Linked DNA regions of Homo sapiens: region 1 is linked to region 2. Evidence: promoter capture Hi-C in human tissues and cell types (Jung and others, 2019). All regions are on one chromosome and are shown on one strand. The core of a region is centred on a gene start or on the middle of the fragment in contact, and the rest is flanking DNA. Distances in the headings are between cores, read along the strand shown.

Region 1 (4,249 bases), core at 1,032-3,531, 110 kb before region 2:
CTTTTGATCTCACCTGGAAAAGTTTTAGCCTCATGTACTGGTTTCAGGTAAAAAAAAATAAAGCCATTCTCCATTTGAAAATGTGACCCATTTATTTGAACTGAAAGGCATCATTACAAAGTGCAAACATTTCTTTGGTAATGAACTGAATACAATGGTCATAAAAAAGGCATTTGGCTGTTGGAGCAGTTAGAAAAGTAAATAAATATGTACATTCCACTCCTGTTACAGCGATCCCGCACAGTGGCTGCTAGACACGTTCACCCAGGCACTGCCCACTGTTCTGATTACAGAGAGTATCAAACTGGTGATTCCGCAGACATTTTGGTTTGAATTACAGAATTTTTTTTGGTAAATCACAGTCAGCTTCCCCCTTTGGCTTAGACAACACAATTCCTTGTGACTGGCCCAGACCGCACATTACGCAGGTGTGCTACAGGTGTGCCGCCTCAGCACTGAGACCATGAGGCCTCCAGGGCATGTAAGAGGCACAGAACACTCCCAGAACCCAGAATCTGCTGTCATCTGAGTGCCTGAGCAACTTACATAACCATCAGCTTTTAGACGAACTTACACATTTCCTATTTGACAGAAATCTCTTCCACAATTTGGTCACTACATTTGACTTGCTATTTCAAAAGAAGTCCACATGTCATGAAACACCAACCAATTTTTATCAATCACTTACCAATATGAGGTTAAGAAGTTAAGACAACCATTTTTACAGATAAAACACATGAATCCAATGACCTTCCTCACAGCTGAAATGCTGCCTCCGCCGCAGCAACTTGGCCGGCCCGTGCTGGAAGGGTCTGGGTGTCTCCTTGGGAGGATGTGCACCTGGAACACGGGTTGTGCACAAATCACACCAGGCACTGTATGCGCCCATCCTGTCAGAAGGAAGCTGGCCTCCCCCACCCCATGGAAGCCTCGACGCCATACCCCAGTGCTGGACACCTGCCACCCTGAACCGAAACGGCCCCTGACCTCAGGGGCTCCCTCCACCACCTCAGCTGGGCCTTGCTGCGGGCAGGTGGCCCGGACCTTGGTGCCTCGTGTGCCCAGCACTGTGCCTGGCACATGGTGGATACTCAGGTCAGCGTGCTGCACTGAAGCTGTGTGTTCGGGGAAAGGTTGCTCAGAACACAGATCGCTTTGTATTTAGAGAAAAATGGAAGGTTTTGGTCAATTAAAGAGAGACCATGAGGTATGAGAGTTGATTTTCACTGACGTCTAAAAGAACTTTGCATAGTGGAAATGGTTTTTCTGCCATATCTAATACCTAAAAAATGGACACAATTTCATAAAACATCACGCATTTTAAAAATACAAATGAGGTATAGGGATTCTTTTTTTTTTTTTTTTTTAACGCACTCACACAACCTGAAGTTAGACAGTTCCCGACACTTGAGCTCCTCCTCCCTTGGGAAGAGCCATCCGGAAGCGGCTCTTGTTCAGGACGTGGACGCAACCAGGGCCGGCTGGGAGCGGCGTTGTCAACACACACCCTTGGCCCTCGGCAGGTATCAGATACACAATGGGATGAAGGAGGTTTTTTCACATTTGGTTCACAACTAGGCAGTATGTGTGCAAGTGACAGCTGAAAGCAAACCTGTTTCTAAATGTGGCTTATGAATGTTCTAATCAGGTGTGGAAGGAGCTGACACACGGAGAGTCACAGGCTATACAGCTGCTTCGAGCAGCGGGAATGTTTGTCTTGGGATTAGATGCTGACGTGTGGTGAAATGTTACAGAGAGCCCAGAGGAAGGAGGAGTTCAGAGGTTCCCAGGGAAGAGGCCGGGGGCTTGCACTGCACCCCCAGACAGTGTCCCTGTGAACGCTCTCATCAAAGGTTCTGTTCCGTTTGCCAAACACCAATTTTCTTTTTAAACATAGCTTGTGATGGAACCCCGATTTCGGTGAGCCCCTCTGGCAGCTCCAAGACTCACCCCACCTGCGGGTGACAGGTCTGCCGGCTCCTGGCATCTGAACAAGGCAAGGCTGACATATAGAGGTATCCTGCTTTATTTAAAAAGAAATGGTGTTGGGAGGCAAAATCAATTTAGGCGCCTAAATGATTCAACTGTGCAATTTAATAGTAGCACCAATTTTTCATTTTAAAAGAATTAAATAAAAACCTGAGAAGTCTAACGTGAAGCTAGGACTCCTGCCTGCTTCCCTTCAGGCACCTGCTGTGCCTCCTTCTCCGCAGATGCTCTGGTTGGAAGCCTCCTGCACTGCCTTCTGTAACAGCACCAGCTGGACGTTGTCATGAAATGTCACGAGTTCTGGGTGTTTCCTGGTCTGCAGTCCGCAGCTCCCTGCCATCGGCCACCCGATCTCACGATGGCACAGCAGACAAACTCTGAGGAGCCTCCCAGGAGCCTAGGGCTTTTCCTCCGCCCTCTTCTGTAAGCAGACTGGACAGCAGGCCCCTGGGATGTTCACGGGGACAGCACAGGTGGCAGGGGGGCAAGCTTCCACGAAGCAGGTGACCTGCCCGTCCTGGAGAAGAGAGACGGAGCACAGCCTGTCAGCTCTGGGATGGCCTTCAGGTGAGCAAAGCCTGTCAGCTCCGGGACAGGTGTCAGCCACGGCCATGAGTCAGGCCTTGCCCTGAGGCCCCTGCCTTGCCCGCTGTACTTGCCCTGTGGGCATGGATTTTGTGGTTCTCTTAGGATTTCATAGTTGCAGACAGGTATGAGTTAATGGGAGCCCCCATAACAAGTCTCCCTGAGGCTCCCGTCCCACCCTTCCGTCCATGCCCACGGTCCTCTCACCCTGAGGGGCCAAGACCACCAGCTGGACACATCCTCCCACCTCACACCTGGATCCCCTCGGACTGTGTCTGGGGGTGGGCGTTGTCAGGAAGCAGGATGGGACTAGAGAGAGGGGGGAAGGGACAGGGCTTTGCTCTTCCCCGGTCTGCCCTTCCCAAACCTGACCAGCTCAGGGACACTGATGCGCGTCCTCTCCCAATGGCCATGGCAAGAGAAGTGCCCGGGCTGGCGCGCTGTCCTCCCCATCCTGCCTCCTCACACTATGCCCCAAGCTTTCCACGGAGCCTGGTTCCAGCCAGACGTCTGTCCATTGCCGGCACCAGGGCACCCTCCACCTGCCACCAGTCTCCCTTTGCAGGGACTCCAGTGACCTCTGTAACACCCCCAGCTCTGACTGGAGATGGGACAGGGCCAGTGGTGGGCAGGTCAGTGTTTACCCACCAGCTCTGCAGGGAGGAGCTGATCTACCCCATTCATGGGTTTCCATGGCATGAGTATTCCTGCCACAGCTGGTGGGAGGTGAAGCCAGTGCACACAAGCAGCCCCAGGTGGCCCTGCACAGAGTAGGGGCTGCCCGCCCTCTGTGGGGTTGGACCATGCTGAGGTTCTGGGCCTCCTAGCACGTCCTCTGTGCACAGAGAGCTGGGCTTGCCTGGTGCTTCCATAGGAGTGAAGGAGGGATGGAGGCCAGCACAGGTAGGCGGGGAGGGGCCTGGCCCTGACATCTGGGCCACCCACCTGAGTGGTCACATGGGACTCTCGGACTTGCGTATACCTTAGGACATGAAGATAGAGCCCCCCATACTCACTTTGCATTCACAAATGGTGCATGCATCTTTTTTCCACTTGGTGTTGTTGGCGTGAGATTCGCCCCCGGCATCCACGCACTCTGTGGTACTGAGCCGTGATTCAAGTTTCTTTATCTGCAGCAATGCAAAGAACATTCATTCATTGGGCACTTCAGAGTAACAGCTTGGCTCTTGTATTAAAAGATGTTATTTCACTGAAAATAATGCCTTAAAATAAACAACATTTGAGGGGAATATTTCTGAAGAACTTTTACAGAATCTCCAATGTCCTTATTAGACTGGCGGCAGCTGACCACACGCCCCAATGGAAGACATTCCCACCACCGTGCTGTCAAATAAAAACCGTAGTCACAAAGGCGACGTTCTCAGAGGACTGTGGGAGCAAGATTCAACCAGATGACGAGAACGTCCTGCACCTACACTTCCACCAGAACGAACGATGATCACTCAGAATCCCCAGAGTCAAGTCTGCCTTATTTTCCGAGTAACAACACCACTGGCTTTTCTCTGGAAGCACGGGGCCCCATAACAAGGTGACCTTTCCAACCGCTGTGCCATGCACAGGGGTAGCAGAAGCCTCCTGGAAGGGTCTCCTTCCTCAAACCCTCTCTTGCATCTTGCAGGGCCGGGGGGCAGACAGGGTGACAGTGGCCGGAAAT
Region 2 (4,034 bases), core at 800-3,299:
TGAGGCGTTTGTGGACGAGCACACCATGCAAAGCGGAGCAGAGGACCCCATGTGTGTCCTACGACACTTATTTTAACATGTTATTTTCAACAAGCAATTAATATTCCGGGGCAAAACATACCGCAAGCTTTATGAAACTGACCAGATGGGAAAAATCTTTGAGGTGCCATTTTTCCACTGGCTCAGCAAGAATTACATTATCCAGACCCAGGGAAACCTCACCCGGCTCCATTCTAAAAGTCCACTGCTGTTGAGTGAGATGCCCCCGAGTCGTCCGGCCTGGGCTGACCATTCACGGGCTCTGGAAAGAAAGCCTTGGTCTCTCTGCGGAGGAGGAGAGGAACTCGGGCCCCCGCCCCGCCCCAGGGCCTCCAGGAAGCAGCCTGCAAACTCGGCGACCCCTGGGAGCCGTGGTCTGTCCCAGCACTTTGTTTCGGAGGTAGGCGCACTGGCCGCCCACTTCCTGAATTGTTCACTCAATTTTTTTACAACTTTTGCAGACTCTTTGCTGGTGCCAAAAAGTCCTCTGGCTCAGCTAAGAAACGTGAAAACTATTTTTGGCATGCAGAAAAGTCGCTACAGGACTAAATTAGAGTCGGCGCCTGAAACGCAGCCCGCGTTCACAGATCCCGAAAATGTTGAATCCGACTCGCTTCAGAACACAGGAGGCCTGCAGCGAACTCTGGCGGCATCTCGGTACCTGGAGCCGCGGGGCGGAGGGATGGGGATTCCTGCTGTGGAGACCGTGACGCGGGACGGCCCGCAGGACAGGGTGTCAACCCCAACGCAACGCATCCGGTTAAACGTATAGCGCAACTGCGAACACGCTCGCGTGGATTAGAAGCGAAAGAAGAGAAATGCCCGAGGCAGAAACCCGCTCTGAGTCCCGGCTCCATCTAGACCCGGGCTGCCCCGAGACTACCGCGCGGCCCCTCTCGGGAACCCCGGCCGCCCGGCTCGCTCCGGGCGCAGGAAAAGCCCCTGAGAAGCGCGGGGCCCCCAGGACACCCCAGGAGAGGACGCTCCGGGCAGATGCGGGGGCACTGGGAGCGGGGGCGCCGCGGCTGCGGGAACTGAGGCTCCTCTGGGGAGGCTTCCCCGGCGCGGGGGGATGGGGTGGGCACTGCGCTCCAAGGGGCGGGGGAGGGGGAGAGGGCGGAGGCTGGGGGAGGAGAAGGAAGGGGGGGAGGAGGAGGGGAAGGGAGGAGGAGGAGGAAGGGGAGGAGGAGGAGGAAGGGGAGGAGGAGGAGGAAGGGGAGGAGGAAGAGGAGCGGAGGAGGGGAGCGAACAGGACGAGGAACGGGGCGGAGGGGGCTGGGAGGACGGAGGGGGCTGCGCCGCGCTCGGGGAGCGGAGGGGGACCGAGGGGTCCTGAGCGGGGGAAAGGTGAGCGGAGGAGGGGCCGCGAACCAGGGGGAAGCGGGAGGCCGGCGGAGCATGAGAGGGGGCGGCGGGAGGCGAGCGGGGGGAGCCCCGGAGGCTCCAACAACTTCCCAGTCCTGCGGGGATTCCGAGTTCCGAACAAAGGCGGCTACGAAGGCCGCGCGCACAGCGCTCTGTTCCGCCCCTCGGCGTCTCCCGCAGGGCGAACAAAGGCCCAGCGGGTCCCCGCGCCCAGGTCCCCCCACGTCCCCCTTCGGAGGTTCCCTTCTGCGTCCCAAGTCCCCAGGCCCCCCGCGCGCCCGATGCCCCCTCCACCCTCCGCGCCCCCCACCTCCGATCACCCCTGCGCTCCCGGATCTCCACGAAGCCCCGGACCCCGCGCCCCCGGCGTCCCCCGCGGCACTCACAGGATGGAGGTCTGCGGCGCCACGGCGGGCACGGCCTCCAGCAGCAGATGCATGCAGCGCACGGTGGTGCGGAAGCACAGGCAGCGGCTCGGACACCCTGCGCCCGGCTTCTGGGCCACCACGGCCAGCGTCCCCCAGGCGCAGAACAGCACGAGCGCCAACAGGCAGCGGCGCCCGGGGCCCCTGGAGCGCTTGGCCATGGCCGACGGCGCGGACGGACGCTCGGACGCACGGAGCCACCACGGCCGGCTCCCGACTGCGCCCGCCCGGCCGCGGCCCACGTCCCAGCTGTGCGCGGGGGGCGGGGGGCGCCAGCTGTGCACATGCGCGAGGCTCCTCCCGGCCCCTCTGAATCCCCGAGGGCGGGGCGGGGCGAGAACCCGGGGCCCCAGCGTCCGGCCTGAGCGCCCTCATCCCGGTGGGGCGGCCCGCATGGCCAAGGCGAGCGCTCGGGGGCGCGGAGGAGAGCATTGGCACCCCTGATTCTGCGCTCGAGACTCGGGGCTCGGGACCCTGGGGCCTACGCGAAGCTTCTCCACTTCTCTTACCCGTGGTTTCTGCCTGCGCTCACTACGGGTTTTTTAGTTGGCGCCTTAATGTTTGTAACACTTTTAGAGCGCTTGCTCTGATCCGGGCACGATTCCAGGCGCGCAGGCGCGCTCCTCTCTTTCTCCTTCTCCCTACCCGCAACCACGTAGGAAATTATTTAACGTTCCAAAAAAGCCCCTCATTCCTTTTGAGGAAACTGAGGCCCAAGCCCCAAAGCGCACAGCAAGGGAGTCTGCGGGAAGATTAGACCCAGGCGGTCCGGCTCCCCGGGGCCTGTCAGCCACCTGCTCTCTGCCGGCCGCCTGGCTCAGCACAGTTGGGAAAATGAAAGGTCCTGTGTGGAGTCCTTGGCGCGGCGCAATGCAGCCCCCGGGATTCTCGCGGCCTTCAGTGCGTGCCCTCCTGGGACAGACCTAGGAGGAGACCCAGGGAACCCCCCCCCCCCACGTCGGGTGTGTCTAGAGACAGCAGAAGACTTTGGAAAGGAGGGAAGACACTGCGTGAGATACGCACAAAGGTGGCGTTCTCACATAGTTCATACATTCTCTCCAATCATCTCACAAGGACCCAGTCTGAATTTCACAGACAAGGAAGGTGAGGCCAAGTTGCTGAACCCAGGCCACAGGGTGACGGTGCCAGATTCAGAGGCACAGCATGGGCGTGTTCCCGTCGCAAACCCCAAGTCTCAGCTGTGTCCCCGTGCTGGTGTTCTAGCCTGAGCTGCGTTTGAAAGCAGCCTGGAATGGGATTGGTGGGTAATAGGCTAGTTTCCTGTTGCTATGTTAAAACACAAAAGCAACTACCACGAGACATAGCCCGGAGGTCACAGGTGCATTGCTGACCACAGGGCACCATCTAAGGACTGGACCCCCGAGGCTGCTGGCAGGGGGTTCCAGTTCCTTGCCGTGTGGGTCTCCATGGCCTGCACACTGGACATGGCCTGATGCCTCCCAGAGCAGGTATTAGAAGAAAGAGGAAGAGAATGAGAGTACAACACAGAAGCCAGGGTAAAACCTAACCCAGCCTTGGAACTGGCCCCGCATCACACCTGCGGGGTGCATCCTCAGAGGTCGGTGGCTCCCGCTGACATTCCAGATGCCATCTTTCCTGCAGGATTTTATCCACCCTCTACAGCGGATGCAGCTCACACTCCGGATTCCATTTCTCCTGCAGGATCCTATTCACACACTCCGGTGGGCCCAGCTCACACTGCAGACAACATCTCTCCTGCAGGATACTATCCACACACAGAAGTGGGTCCAGCTCACACTGCAGACATCTCTCCTGCAAGATCCTATTCACACATTCCAGTGACTCCAGTTCACACTGTAGATGCCAAAACTTATGCAGGATTCTATGCACACACACTAGTGGTGCATTTCACACTCCGGATGCCGTATCTTCTGCAGAATCCTGTCCACACATTTCAGTGGGTCCAGTTCACGCTCTACATGTGCTCTCTCCTGCGGGCTCCTATCCACACACTCCGGAGGTGCCATTCACACTCTAGATGCCATCTCTCCTGCAGGACGATGTCCACACCCTCCAGTGGGTCCAGTTCACACTCTAGAGGACATCACTTTTGCAGGATCCTCTCTACACATTCCACCGGTGCCATTCACACCACAGATGCTGTCTCTTTGCAGAGTCCTATCCACATGCCCCAGGGCTGCAGCTCACACTGCAGACACCATC

Evidence for each region. Contacts are between HindIII fragments. The study calls those that stand out against the background at their distance.
Region 1: a contact is called between a fragment that was not itself captured here and the fragment with the promoter of PXDN in region 2, in 2 of the 25 tissues and cell types used here (aorta and heart right ventricle).

What each region holds. Positions count from the first base shown.
Region 1 is chr2:1,631,818-1,636,066 of GRCh38, forward strand. PXDN (peroxidasin) reads right to left here. Exons shown (of 23, transcript NM_012293.3): 22 at 3,591-3,704; 23 at 70-2,506. The coding sequence ends at 2,387. It overlaps LOC124907723 (a long non-coding RNA gene), which reads left to right and starts at 2,214. Exons shown (of 2, transcript XR_007086188.1): 1 at 2,214-2,556; 2 at 3,868-4,249. The HindIII fragment of the contact is 3,337 bases long and covers 614-3,950 here.
Region 2 is chr2:1,742,466-1,746,499 of GRCh38, forward strand. It overlaps PXDN (peroxidasin), which reads right to left and starts at 2,050. Exons shown (of 23, transcript NM_012293.3): 1 at 1,791-2,050. The coding sequence starts at 1,990. The HindIII fragment of the contact is 6,203 bases long and covers 1,224-4,034 here.